Linked DNA regions of Homo sapiens: regions 1, 3 and 4 are each linked to region 2. The links are contacts of gene promoters, found by promoter capture Hi-C in blood cells and fetal thymus (Javierre and others, 2016). All regions are on one chromosome and are shown on one strand. Each heading gives the region's core, a stretch centred on a gene start or on the middle of the fragment in contact. The rest is flanking DNA. Distances are from core to core; before and after follow the strand shown. Region 1 overlaps GRIK1 (glutamate ionotropic receptor kainate type subunit 1). Region 2 holds the start of CCT8 (chaperonin containing TCP1 subunit 8). Region 3 overlaps GRIK1 (glutamate ionotropic receptor kainate type subunit 1). Region 4 overlaps GRIK1 (glutamate ionotropic receptor kainate type subunit 1).

Region 1 (2,920 bases), core at 308-2,807, 780 kb after region 2:
CCTTTTCTAGCCCTATAATGCAGTGGAAATGCCAGAGTCTGAATGACTTTAGCTTGAGTCCTGGTTCTGACTCCTACCAGCTGTGTGATCACAGTTCCTCTTCTGCAAAACAGAATCTAATAACTAACTTCATGAGCTATGAGGAGATTCATGTACAGCACCTATTCCAGAGCCAGGGCTACTAGTCTACCTCATGGCCTCAACTCTCTTAGCTACTTAAACATTTCCAAGAAGAGCGTCTTTAGCACTGACTTCTCTTCTGAACTGGTGATCTCTAATTGCAACATAAATCTTGATGTCACCCCTTGGACGAAATGTCCTGTCTTCAATACATGTTGTTTAGAATCAAACATATTATCTGTTTCCCCAAATCTGCACTGACTCCTGGTATACTGGTTTCTCTTAAAGACACTACCATTCCGTTCACTTACTTAGATGTGACATATCAGTGCCATCTTTGATCCTTCTCCCTGATTTCTTACCTCTATGGAAAAATTTTCAAGTCTGACTATTTCTCCTTCCACAGTTTCTCACATTTCTTCCCACCCCTCCATTCCCATTGTCAGCACTAAGTTCACAGTTGTCTCTGATGTCAGCCTCAGCTCACATCTCTTTTGTTCTTGAAGGATTTTCCTTAATGCTGCTTTGTCACTTCTTTCTTCCTTCTACCTTGATGCTTGACATTCAAATTATTTAGGAATCTGACCCTACTTAAATAGTTAGTTCTCTCCCACAGAGCACTTTTCACTTTCCTTGCGCTTAAATGCAAATAGTGACTGTTACTATTCACATCTGAGTAACTTGGGCACCTCTACCCACTGTTCCTCCTACCAAGAAGGCCCCCTACCTGTAGAAATTCTATACATTTCCCAAAATTCAGACTAAAATCTATGTACTCTGCAGACTTCCTTCATCCTGCAACTTCCAGCTAAACTTCAATGGCCCCTTATCAGTTCCACTTCCTACCTCCATTCTCTGTACATCTTGTCTCTCTTACTAGACTGGAAGATACTCGAGTGCACTACTGATATTTTCTTCCTAGTGGGCACATTGTAGGCAGTAAATAAATGTGGCCTGAAAGCTGAAGCAAATGAAGGAACAGCCACATAAATATGCAAGTCATTTAGGAAACTTTACATTTATCAAAATGTTTTTCAAGTGGTGAATGCTTTACACAAAGTAAAGTGTTATGTTATTTCATTATGATATAGGAGAATATTTTCTTATGTCAGTTTGAGGAATAATTTTTTCCATCTTGGCACTTGTGTCAAATTACTACATTTCAAAGTTAGATTTGAAATTGCAGTAGGGATATATTTTTATTTTAGTGCTTCTTTAAGTTATAAAGCTTCCCTGATAAATATACCAAATTTATCAATAAACTATGTAGAGTGTCTAGATAAAAACCTTTTGGTAATGTAATTCATTCTGATCTTATATCCCAAAGCTTTAAGATTTGCATAAAATCAACATATCTTCTCACTCTTAAAGTACTATTTTGTGTCATTCTAAAAGTAGTGAAAATATTCTTTTATATAAAAGGAATTGTAGCCTCACTGAACAATTTAAGTAAACCACTTTTCTTCATTCTCTACTGGCAAAATATTTTATGTTATCTTTAACACTCTCACAATTCCAAGAAAGTAACTATGACATTTGTGCCATAATGAAGCTTCCTCTCAAGTAAGTAAAGGCTCAATACTTGAAAGAAAAGTCTTAACATTTACATAGCAGTACAGGGGTTCTCAACCTCAGCACTATTGACATTTTGGTTCTGATTTTTTGTTGTTGTTGACTGTTCCGTACATCGTAGGATATGTGGCAGCACCCTTGGCCAAGAATGACTTCTGATGTGACTAAGAACTAAGTGACTTAGTCCTCCAGCTACCTTTTGAATTCAAAAGTCAATTCTGAAAGTCTGTTTATTAGGAAGCCAAGTATCTCTTAGTACTCAGATATCTCTTGGGGGCAAAATTGCCTCCAGTGGAGAATCATTTCAGTAGTAAAAGTATTTACTAATTCTACTTACTGTGTTTTTATAAATTAATCTCCCCAATCTAGCTTTTTGGAGAAAAATAGGCCAACTATGCTTTCCTCTAGTCAACTGCATATGACTCATGGGAATGTCTGATTTCCTCCATTTATTAGCATATTGATAGCAAACTCTTCAGGAGCATTCACCAAATCAACGTGTATTAAATATCCATTCTGCATTGGGAAAATAGATGAAAGAAACACAGACCAAAACCCCTGCTTTCCTGAAGTTTACATACTAGTGGAAGAAGCAAGACAATAAACAAACATATAAAGGAAACATATAGCATGTCAGAGGGAGATAAGTTTAAGGCAAAAATTAGAAGAACAGTAAAAAGAATAGGTGATGCTGTGTAAGCAGCATGGGTGGGTCACAATTTTAAATAGGATGGCCAGGGTTGTCCTCACTGCCCCCATGACATCTGAGCAAAGGCCTGAAGGAAGTCAGTAGTGAGCGGCCTAGTCCATCTGTGTTGCTATACAGGAATACCTAATGCTGAGTAATTTATATAAGTTTATTTAGCTCACGGTTCTGCAGGCTGTACAAGAAGCATGATGCCTTCTGGTGAGGGTCTCAGGGAGCTTCCACTTGTGGTAGAAGGGGAAGGGGAGCTGCATCACATGGCAAGAGAGGAGGAAAGAGAGAGAGAGAAGCGAGTGGGGCTGCGCTGTTTTAAATAACCAGCTCTCACATAAACTAATAGAGCAAGAATGTACTCTTTGCTTTGGTGATAGCACCAAGCTATTCATGAGATATTTGTTCCCATGACCCAAACACCCCCCCACCAAGCCCCACCTCCAACATTTGGGATCAGACTTCAACATGAGATTTGGAGGGGACAAATATCCAAATGATATCAGGGAGTGAGCTTTCAAACACTTGGCA
Region 2 (2,700 bases), core at 127-2,626:
TTATTTAATCATTATTTCTGCCTTAGAAGGACATAAACTCTACGACAAATGGGACTTTTGTCTTTCACTGCAGTTCCTTCAGTACCTATTTATTGAAAGAAATAGCTCAGTGTTCTGTAAAAAACTACTAGCACTGGAATGACAAATAATGTTTTGTGATACACGAGTTTTCCAAAACTGTATTAGTGAAAAAAACCCAAATTGGAAGCTATTATCTCAGCCTGATTTTTTCAAGGGAATCAGCCCATATCATTTTCAAAAGATTATTCCACCAACATTTACCTTGAACCCTGACATTTACTTACTATACCGACATTATTTGAAAAGTGCATCCTACAAACATGAACCTAGTTCTATTAAACTGTTAATGCTCCCCGTACCTCGCATAAAACCTTAAATTCAACCACACTGATCTATTTCTTGAATTAACAAAATCTGGAGGACACACAGAGGAATGCAATTTGAATAGCACAAGAGACAAATTTATCAATAGTGCAGTAAGATATTTTTTAAAACTATGCTACCGAACTAACGTTCAAGAAAAGGCCATTAAACAAAAGTGTTATCTGCACCCCTCTATCACTTATCCTGCAGATTACACAGAACTCAAAGACACCACCTCTTGGTCCAATCTCCATAATTTAAAGACGAAGGAAACAAAACCCAAGAAAGTTACATTTTAGATTAAGCCAGCTAACATAAGTTGGGACCGGAACTCATTTGGCTACAACGCATGGCTTCTGTCAACTAAGCTGAAAGCCGTATGTTTCTCACTGGGAAGCAAGCAACCAAGACCCGGCCCTTTTTCCCACTCTCTTCTCTGGATCGGCTAGTTCTCGTTCTTCCCCATCCTACAACTCGCGAGCTATGTGATAATCGACGTCGCAGTTCTCAAGACAATTTCATCTACGTTATTCAATTTCACCCTCACAACCTCCTTTAAGGGTGACGGGCCTTAGCCCCATTTACGGATGGAGGCAAAACGCACGCGCGGCTTCACATCCGTCCACCTTCAAGGTGTACAATGTCGATCGTGCCGCCGATCCCTCGGCCTTCTCCCGGTCGCGGAAGAAGAGAAGTGCCCGCAGGCTCCGGTGGCCGAGCCCTTCCAAAATCACCTCCCTTTCTGGAATCTTCTCTTCCCCCGGCCGCTGAGCCAGGGCAGCACGCTCAGCCCGTTAGTAGGCCCTCCTACTTCGCCGCGGCCGCCGCAGCCCTATGCTGACGCTCCCACCTCATTCCTTTCCTTCAGCCCTTACTTTCGCTCCCTCCTTGAGCATCTGGGCAAAGCCCGGAGCCTTGGGAACGTGAAGCGCCATGGCCAGCCTGCAGGAAGCAGTTCACGCGACCGCTCGGAAGACCGCGGAGGAAGCGAGGAGCACGCACAGCCTTCTGGGAAAGCAGCGTGGGGCCGCCTCACGCTCTTCCTGGCTCTCCAATTAGCCCACCCTTTCCCTGCCGCCAGGTCTGAAGCATCGCGAGAAGAGCAACCTCTGTGGCCAGAACCAAGCTGACGATCCCCGATCGGGTCGATCGATAGGGCGGGCCCAGGGAGCCCCTCGGGTTTCTGGCTCACGCACGCGCAGACAGCCCAGGCCGTGAGAGGTTGCTCCAGTCTGTGCTCTCTGACCGTAGTCAGTAGTCACGGCGTTAGATTTTTGCGGTTTTTGATCTGGAAGCCACACATCCTTAGCTTAATTTCCACGTATCTTCCAGACCCAGCCACCAACGTCAGGGCAGGTGTGCTTTTTTTTTCCCGAGGCAGAGCATCTGCCCCATCCCCCAAAATTGTCTCTAGGCGTCCGCTCTGTGTTGGGCACCATAGGAAGCGCTGGGAATGCGCACGATAATTAAAGTCGTCACTAAGAGTAATGTAGTACACATCAAGTGCTCAAGTGTGCCATATTCTGTGTGATCTGCTTTACATGCAGTATCTCTGTTAATGGTCAGTCTTAAAAATTAATGAATTGTCGGTTAAAATACCATTTAGTTTTCCTTCCATAAAATGGAGACGATACCATTAAAAATTAAAAATTAAATGGTACTGTCTCTATTTTGTAGAAGGGAAACTGAAGTTCACAAACTGTAAATAATTTTCCCAAGATCACAGAGCTAGTAAATATTAAAGCTAGAATTCCTATCTAGATCAGACTTATTGCAAAATGCCGGTTCTTAACCACTATCTATATTCCTCTTTTCTACTTCTTCCTGGGAATATAAATCCCTTTTACTCTTTTAAGATCAGATATAAATACATATTTATTTATCTGATTTATATATATAATATACACATTTTATATAAATATATCTGATTTATATATGAATTTATAGATAAATATAAATCCCTTTGGCTTGGTGGCATGCACCTGTAGTCTCAGCTGCTTGGGAGGCTAAGGTTGGAGGATCTGCTTGAGCCTGGGAGGTTGAGGCAGCAGTGAGCTGAGATCATGCCACTGCACTCCAGCCTGGGCAAGAGTGAGGCCCTGTCTCAAAAAAAAAAAAAAATTGCAAAAATGTAAATGCCACTGATATGGTTTGGATTTTTGCAAAAATGTAAATGCCACTGATATGTTTGAATTGCCTGCCCAAATATGATGTGGAATTATAATCCCCAGCTGTTCTTGTGATAGTGAGTGACTTCTCATAAGACCTGGTTGTTTAAAAGTGTGTGGCACCTCCCCACTCTGTCTCTTCCTCCTC
Region 3 (3,039 bases), core at 41-2,540, 740 kb after region 2:
CTACTAGAAGAAAACATAGAGGAAACAATCCAGGACACTGGTCTAGGCAAAAATATTATGGCTAAGATTGCAAAAGCAATGACAACAAAAACAAAAGTAGACAAATGAGACCATATTAAACAAAAAAACTGCACAGTAAAGGAAATAATCAACAGAGTGAAGAGACAATCTATTGATGGGAAAAAATACCTGCCAACTATTCATCTGACAAAGGACTGTATCCAGAATACACAAGGAAGATGACTCAACACCAAAAAAGCCCAAAATAATCCCATTAAAATGTGGGCAAAGGATACGAATAGATATTTCTCAAAAGAAGACAGACAAACGGCCAACAGGTATATGAAAAATATAATCAACATAATTAATTATTAGGAAAATACTAATCAAAACCACAATGAGATATCATCTTACTGCAATTAGAATGGCTATCATCAAAAAGACAAAAAATAGCAAATACTGATGAGGATGAGGAGAAAGGGGAATTTTTATACACTGTTGGTGGGAATGCAAATTAGCATAACCATTATAGAAAACAGTATAGCGATTTCTCAACAAATTAAAAATAAAAATACCACACAATCCATCAATCTCACTACCAGGTATTTATCCAAAGGAAAGGAAATCAGCATGTCACCTGCACTTCCTAGTTTATTGCAGCACTATTCACAATAACCAAGATATGGAATCAACCCTCAGTGTCCAACAACAGATTAATGGGTAAATAAAATGTGGTATATATACACAGTGTAATACTATTCAGCCATAAATAAAGAATGAAATCCTGTCATTTGCAGCAACATGGATAGAACTGGAGGTCATTATGTTAAGTAAAATAAGCCAAGCACAGAAAGTCAAACATTGCATGTTCTCACTTATATGTGGGAGCTAAGAAAGTCAATCCCATAGACAAAGAGAGTAGAATGAGAGTTACCAGAGACTGGGAAGGGAAGTGTGGAATGAAGAGAGGTTGATTAATGGGTACAAACATACAGTTGAATAGAAAGAGTAAGTTCTAGTGTTTGATAGCAGAGTAGGGTGACTATAGTTAACAACAATGTACTGTATATTTCAAAATAGTTAGAAAATATGAAATGTTACCAACACAAAGAAACAATAAAGTTTGATGTGATAGATATTCTAAATATGCTGATTTGATCATTACGTATTGCATGCATGCATCAAAATATCAGATGTACCCCACCAAATATTCACACTTATTACGTATCAATAAAAAAATGATAATCTGGACACAGCTTGTGCCAGAGTAAAGAAATGCTCAAAGAAGAATGGGGACACATTGGAAGGGCACAGGAGCCAACTTAAAGCAACTCTATCTGGTCAGATTTGGTACAATTTGTGCATCAAAAGAGTAATAACTGTATTATAAGATGTTGCATGAATAAAAGTTCATGAGTACATAAAACTACTCATAAAAGAAAAAATAATTATAGAGTGAAAAATTATAGATATTGAAATTGATTAAAGTACAGCGTCTTTTAAATCCCCATTACCATCAAAAGCGAAAACAAATTAAAATTTTGTGATTTCATGATCATTACTTAATAATAGTAAATTGTTAGTATGTATAATGCATTATTGTTCCTAACCATTCACTGCCTTGCAAGAGGTAGAACATACTTTACTGTTTCAATAGTGCTGGGCTTGGCCATGTGACTTTTTGATCAATGGCAGGTAGTGACAATACACTGCTTCTAAGAAGACACCTGAGTCATCTTGGTATTGCCCCTTTCTCGAGCTGCTGTCTTCCTCTATGCCAGCAGCGCACCCTAGAGAATGGTTACACATTCATAGGGGTCATGTGGAAACCAACTGGACCAAGCCAAACCTGGCAAAATCACAGCAGACCTGCAGCCACCATGAAATGGGATCAATAAATTAATGTTTGCTTTTGCAAATCGCTGGTATTTAAGGGTTGTTTGTTGCTGCAGCAAAAGTTGAATAATAAATACAGAGTCATTTATACAGAACCTGTTATGTGCCCAATATGAGAAAATACGCTTAATGCATACCCAACCCAATATTTAGTTGGCTACGCATTAAACATACTCCCTCATTTTGTCCTCTCCCTATTCCTATGGGTTAGGCACGATTATTCCTATTTGGCAGATGAGTGACAGAGTAAAAATTGTTGAATAATTTGCTACATAACTTATTAGGGATCAGTTAGGTATTCAACTCAGGACCATTTAACTCCAAAGTCTGGAGTCTTAGACAACATGGTGTACTGCATTCTAAGGATGGAAATTTAGGGAAAACCCTATGTTGACTTTAAAGTGAAATATGGGTGAATCCCAGCCATTCCATATATTTCAACCATGTAAAACAACGCACATTATATTGTCTGGCCAAATCCAAAGTAAATAATAAATGTTGACAGACAAAAAAAATTTCTGGGAGCAAACCTTTTGAGAAACAGAATTTACTTAGGTGACTCAGACATATCAAAAATCACACTGAATCAATCCCAAATGATGTACATTCTCACGAAGGAAAGGAGCCAGATTTTTAGTCTAACTCTTCTAGATTCTTAGCCCTGTCTCCATGGCCCTTTCTACATAAATCCTGGCCTTAAGAAAGGCTTCTGGGCCTCCTTGACTTTCTCTTCCTATCCCAGCTTTGACGATTTCTCTCCATTTGAGAAATGAATAATTCAGAATTAGAAACCCTACTTGAGTCCCACCACTCCCCAGCCTCCCAGCTTGCTCATATCCTCATTATGGGAAAAGCTATTCCAAAAGGCAAACAGCTTTTCATAATTGTTATTTAATGGATATTGCCTGCTCCTGGGATTTCTTTCTCAGTATCTATTTGTAATTCAAAGGTCAGCGTAATACCACTGGCACACACAAGGATTCTGACAGATTTGTTCCTCCTGATTGAAATTCAGATACAGAACCCACAGTGACACAGTAGGTTTGTTTAGGAGTCTCTTCTGTGGTGTAGGTCACAGTTAGGATGAATCTGACCTCATCTTAATTCTGTGTCTTCACTAGTCACTAAGAAAACTGACCTATG
Region 4 (3,105 bases), core at 333-2,832, 590 kb after region 2:
TTTTATAGCCTTTCTCAATATCAGGATAAATTCTAAACCACCAGACATGGTTTGTAATCAATAATTTCAAGTGAATAACTTCCAAATGTGTGAACATGCAATGTGGCTAAAATAATGGTTTTACCTCAAGATAGAAATAAGGTATTTTTGGCACAGGAGTCTTCAGAAAACCAGGTGAATGATATCAAGTCTCCGAGCAGCAATTTTAAGATGAAAGTTTGAGCTTCAGTGTGTAGCTCTTTTTTATTTGCTAACTGTAATATTTTAGGCTGCATCTATACTATCCTCTGAGCCAGATGCCTCTTTGGCCATGCAATTTTTAATGGTGGTCATCAGTAGAACAAGATGGATATAAGACAGTCTTTAGACCAGTGTTTATTGCTATAGAAAGTACATTCATGCCACATTGAATGATTATAGCTTACATCTACAAAAGTAATAGTGGAATATACAGAAAATAGCATTTGACACCAGAAAAATCCTGATATACAGAAAGATATCCATCTACTTATGGAGGGGACCAAATAATGGTTCTCTAAAGATGTCTACGTCCTAATTCCAGAACCAATGGAATATGTTCCTTTACCTGGAGATGGATTTTACAGATGTGAATAAATGAAAGATTTTGAGATGGGGAGATTTCTCTGAATTATCTAGGTAGGCCCAATGTAGTCACAATGAAAACAGCAGGGTCTTAAGGCAGAGAAGGTGTAAATGGGAATGCGTAAATAGAAGGAGAGAGAAAGATGGAGTGTGATGCGGGGCCACAAGACAAGGAATGAGGACGGCCTCTGTGAGTAAGAAAAGGCAAGAAGTTGGATTTTCCCCAGAAGTTTCCAAAAGGAAAGCAGACCTGCTAACAACATGATTTTAGATCTCTGATTTCTGTAACTGTAAACAAATATATTGTTAAAGCCACTAAATTTGGCTTAAACAGCAATAGAAAACCAATACATCTCATTTTCTCATCTTTCTGTGATTATGGCATATGAAATCGCTGTAACCCTAACTCCAGTGATTGGTACATTACTCCAGCTTTGGTAACGTCAAAAACATGTATCAAGAGGAAAAATTGACTTTTTTCATTTGAGGTTGACAACTTGCTAAGTTCCTCTGTTTCCCTCCATTCACTTACACGTGTTAACCACATGCATGTACACAGGTGATAAGCTAACCACAAGTCTAGGGTTTTTCCTTGGATTTGAAAACTGTGCTATATGATGTATAAATCCAGCCCCTTTTTCTCCTACCTCCAAGTTAAACTAAAGAAAAGCAAAAGATATTCCACAAAGAGTTGATGAATTAAATAACTGTACTATTTGGAAGTTCTTCTCAGTGTTAACTCCTTTATAAGCTTCTCTCCTTAGAGGTATGGTCTGCAGGAGAAAGGAAGCTCATACTAATAGATATTAATAAAAGGAGTGCAAATCATTGGGGTTTAGTTTAGCTTGGAAGATGATCCTACTAGAAGAGCCAGATTGCATCACCCAGGTGCACAACAGATGAGATTATGCTATTTAAGGAGTGCAGACTGTTGAGAACAGAGCAGGAAAAGAAGTTTTCCCATGGCAGAATGAAATAGGCAATCTGGTAAACAGGAGAGAATGGAACTTTTGGGGCAATTACATGAAACTAAAAAATAACCTCTCTGCAACATCTAGGGAAAATTGGTGGAAAGATGATATGTAAGAGAGAATACGGAGGAAACAAATTTTAACAGCAAATTATTGAACAAAATCTAGAAGCTGGAAGGTAACAGAATATTTTGAATTATTATCTACCCCAGATGATTCAGTGTAATCTTTTTGCAACAAGCTTCTTTGATAATGATGTTAATGAAAACTATACCTCAAATTTGCTTGAAAGTCACCTTTTGAAGGAGAGACAGGGGTGCAGCCATTAAATGGTGATCTTGCTGGTCTCACGAGATCTCTATTGCCCAGTAAAGTCTTCATGAGTCTGGGGCCTGATCTTCAGCTTTTTGGGTGACTTGACTTTGTTAATTTATCTGAAAACTATCAGGCTTAAAAAATAATTTATATCAGTGTTTCTTAGTATATTATTAGAACCACCAAGAAACTTCTCCAAAATACCAATGCCTGAGCCTCATTCCTAAATATTCTGATTTATTTTGTCTGGGATATGTTTCAGGCATTGATAGTTACTAAAAACTCCCCAGGTGATACTTATGTACAGCCAGTGCTGAGAACCACTGATTTATATTAACCAAGCTCATATTTTTAAGCTACAACAATAATATTCACAGCGACTGCTTGCTGAGTGCCACAACACGATGTTCACTACAGTAATAGGTTATTGACATTTAATTGGAGAGGAAGTGTTATTCCTAATTTATAGATTTTAGAGATAAAGCATAGTTATAGTATTTGAACCCAGGTTTGATTTCAATCTTGGGATCTTAGGACTTTATTAATTTCTTAATTGATAATAGGAGGTGCAAGTGGCAGGAAAATTAATAATTTGCACAAAATTCTGCTGGAGTTTGAGATCCCAAATAAAAGCATATGGTTATTTAAGACCAAAGTTAGAACCACAGGAGTCAAAGCTTTATCTTAAGTAGGATGCATCAATCCACCTGCCAGAGTTTGTTAAGTTTCCTGTCTACCCGTGAGGGAGCCTCCTGTATAAATGCTGGACTCAGCTGTGAAAGGCCCTTGGATGATGTTCCAGGGACTAGGAGGTGCTTAACTCACAGTTCTTCTTCTGTAAGAATTCAGACCTACCTTGATCTCCTATTATGACATCCCTGGAGATATTAGAATTAATTAGATACAGCTTTTCTTGTGATTTTGAATCCCTTTAGGTCACATTTGGAAAGAACTTTAATCTCCTTAATGGAGTAAGAAAGGATAGTTTCTAAAATTTGTAACAGATTTTTTTTGGCTAAAAGGGTATATTAGACATAATAGATATTTTTGCAATACATGTTATAATGACAGTGGGGACAGATGTGGAGAGCTCTGCATGGCCTGCTAAGAAATGTGTCCTTTATTCTTAATGCAACATCCAGGGTGGAGAGGGTGGCACTCAGCAATTTCAAACATGGAGGTATAAAATCAGATGTTTTACTCAGAATGAATAGTG

What was found. The method cuts DNA at HindIII sites, captures the fragments that hold promoters and counts their contacts. A CHiCAGO score of 5 or more calls a contact.
Region 1: a contact is called between a fragment that was not itself captured here and the fragment with the promoter of CCT8 in region 2, in 4 of 17 cell types (naive CD4 T cells, erythroblasts, M0 macrophages and 1 more). The highest score is 6.4, in naive CD4 T cells.
Region 3: a fragment that was not itself captured here is called in contact with the fragment with the promoter of CCT8 in region 2 in 1 of 17 cell types (monocytes); the score reaches 7.4 in monocytes.
Region 4: a contact is called between a fragment that was not itself captured here and the fragment with the promoter of CCT8 in region 2, in 1 of 17 cell types (M0 macrophages). The highest score is 6.0, in M0 macrophages.

Annotation. Positions count from the first base shown.
Region 1 is chr21:29,851,528-29,854,447 of GRCh38, forward strand. All of the region lies in intron 1 of GRIK1 (glutamate ionotropic receptor kainate type subunit 1), which reads right to left. Among named protein-coding and RNA genes, the nearest start is that of GRIK1, 87 kb to the right of the region's middle. The HindIII fragment of the contact is 225 bases long and covers 1,446-1,670 here.
Region 2 is chr21:29,072,272-29,074,971 of GRCh38, forward strand. It overlaps CCT8 (chaperonin containing TCP1 subunit 8), which reads right to left and starts at 1,377. Exons shown (of 15, transcript NM_006585.4): 1 at 1,260-1,377. The coding sequence starts at 1,319. RefSeq lists enhancers at 449-1,360, 813-982, 1,361-2,272, 1,433-1,602. The HindIII fragment of the contact is 10,437 bases long and covers 1-2,700 here.
Region 3 is chr21:29,815,844-29,818,882 of GRCh38, forward strand. All of the region lies in intron 1 of GRIK1 (glutamate ionotropic receptor kainate type subunit 1), which reads right to left. Among named protein-coding and RNA genes, the nearest start is that of GRIK1-AS1, 69 kb to the left of the region's middle. The HindIII fragment of the contact is 4,266 bases long and covers 1-3,039 here.
Region 4 is chr21:29,660,746-29,663,850 of GRCh38, forward strand. The region is part of intron 4 of GRIK1 (glutamate ionotropic receptor kainate type subunit 1); the gene reads right to left. Among named protein-coding and RNA genes, the nearest start is that of GRIK1-AS3, 4.9 kb to the left of the region's middle. The HindIII fragment of the contact is 461 bases long and covers 1,353-1,813 here.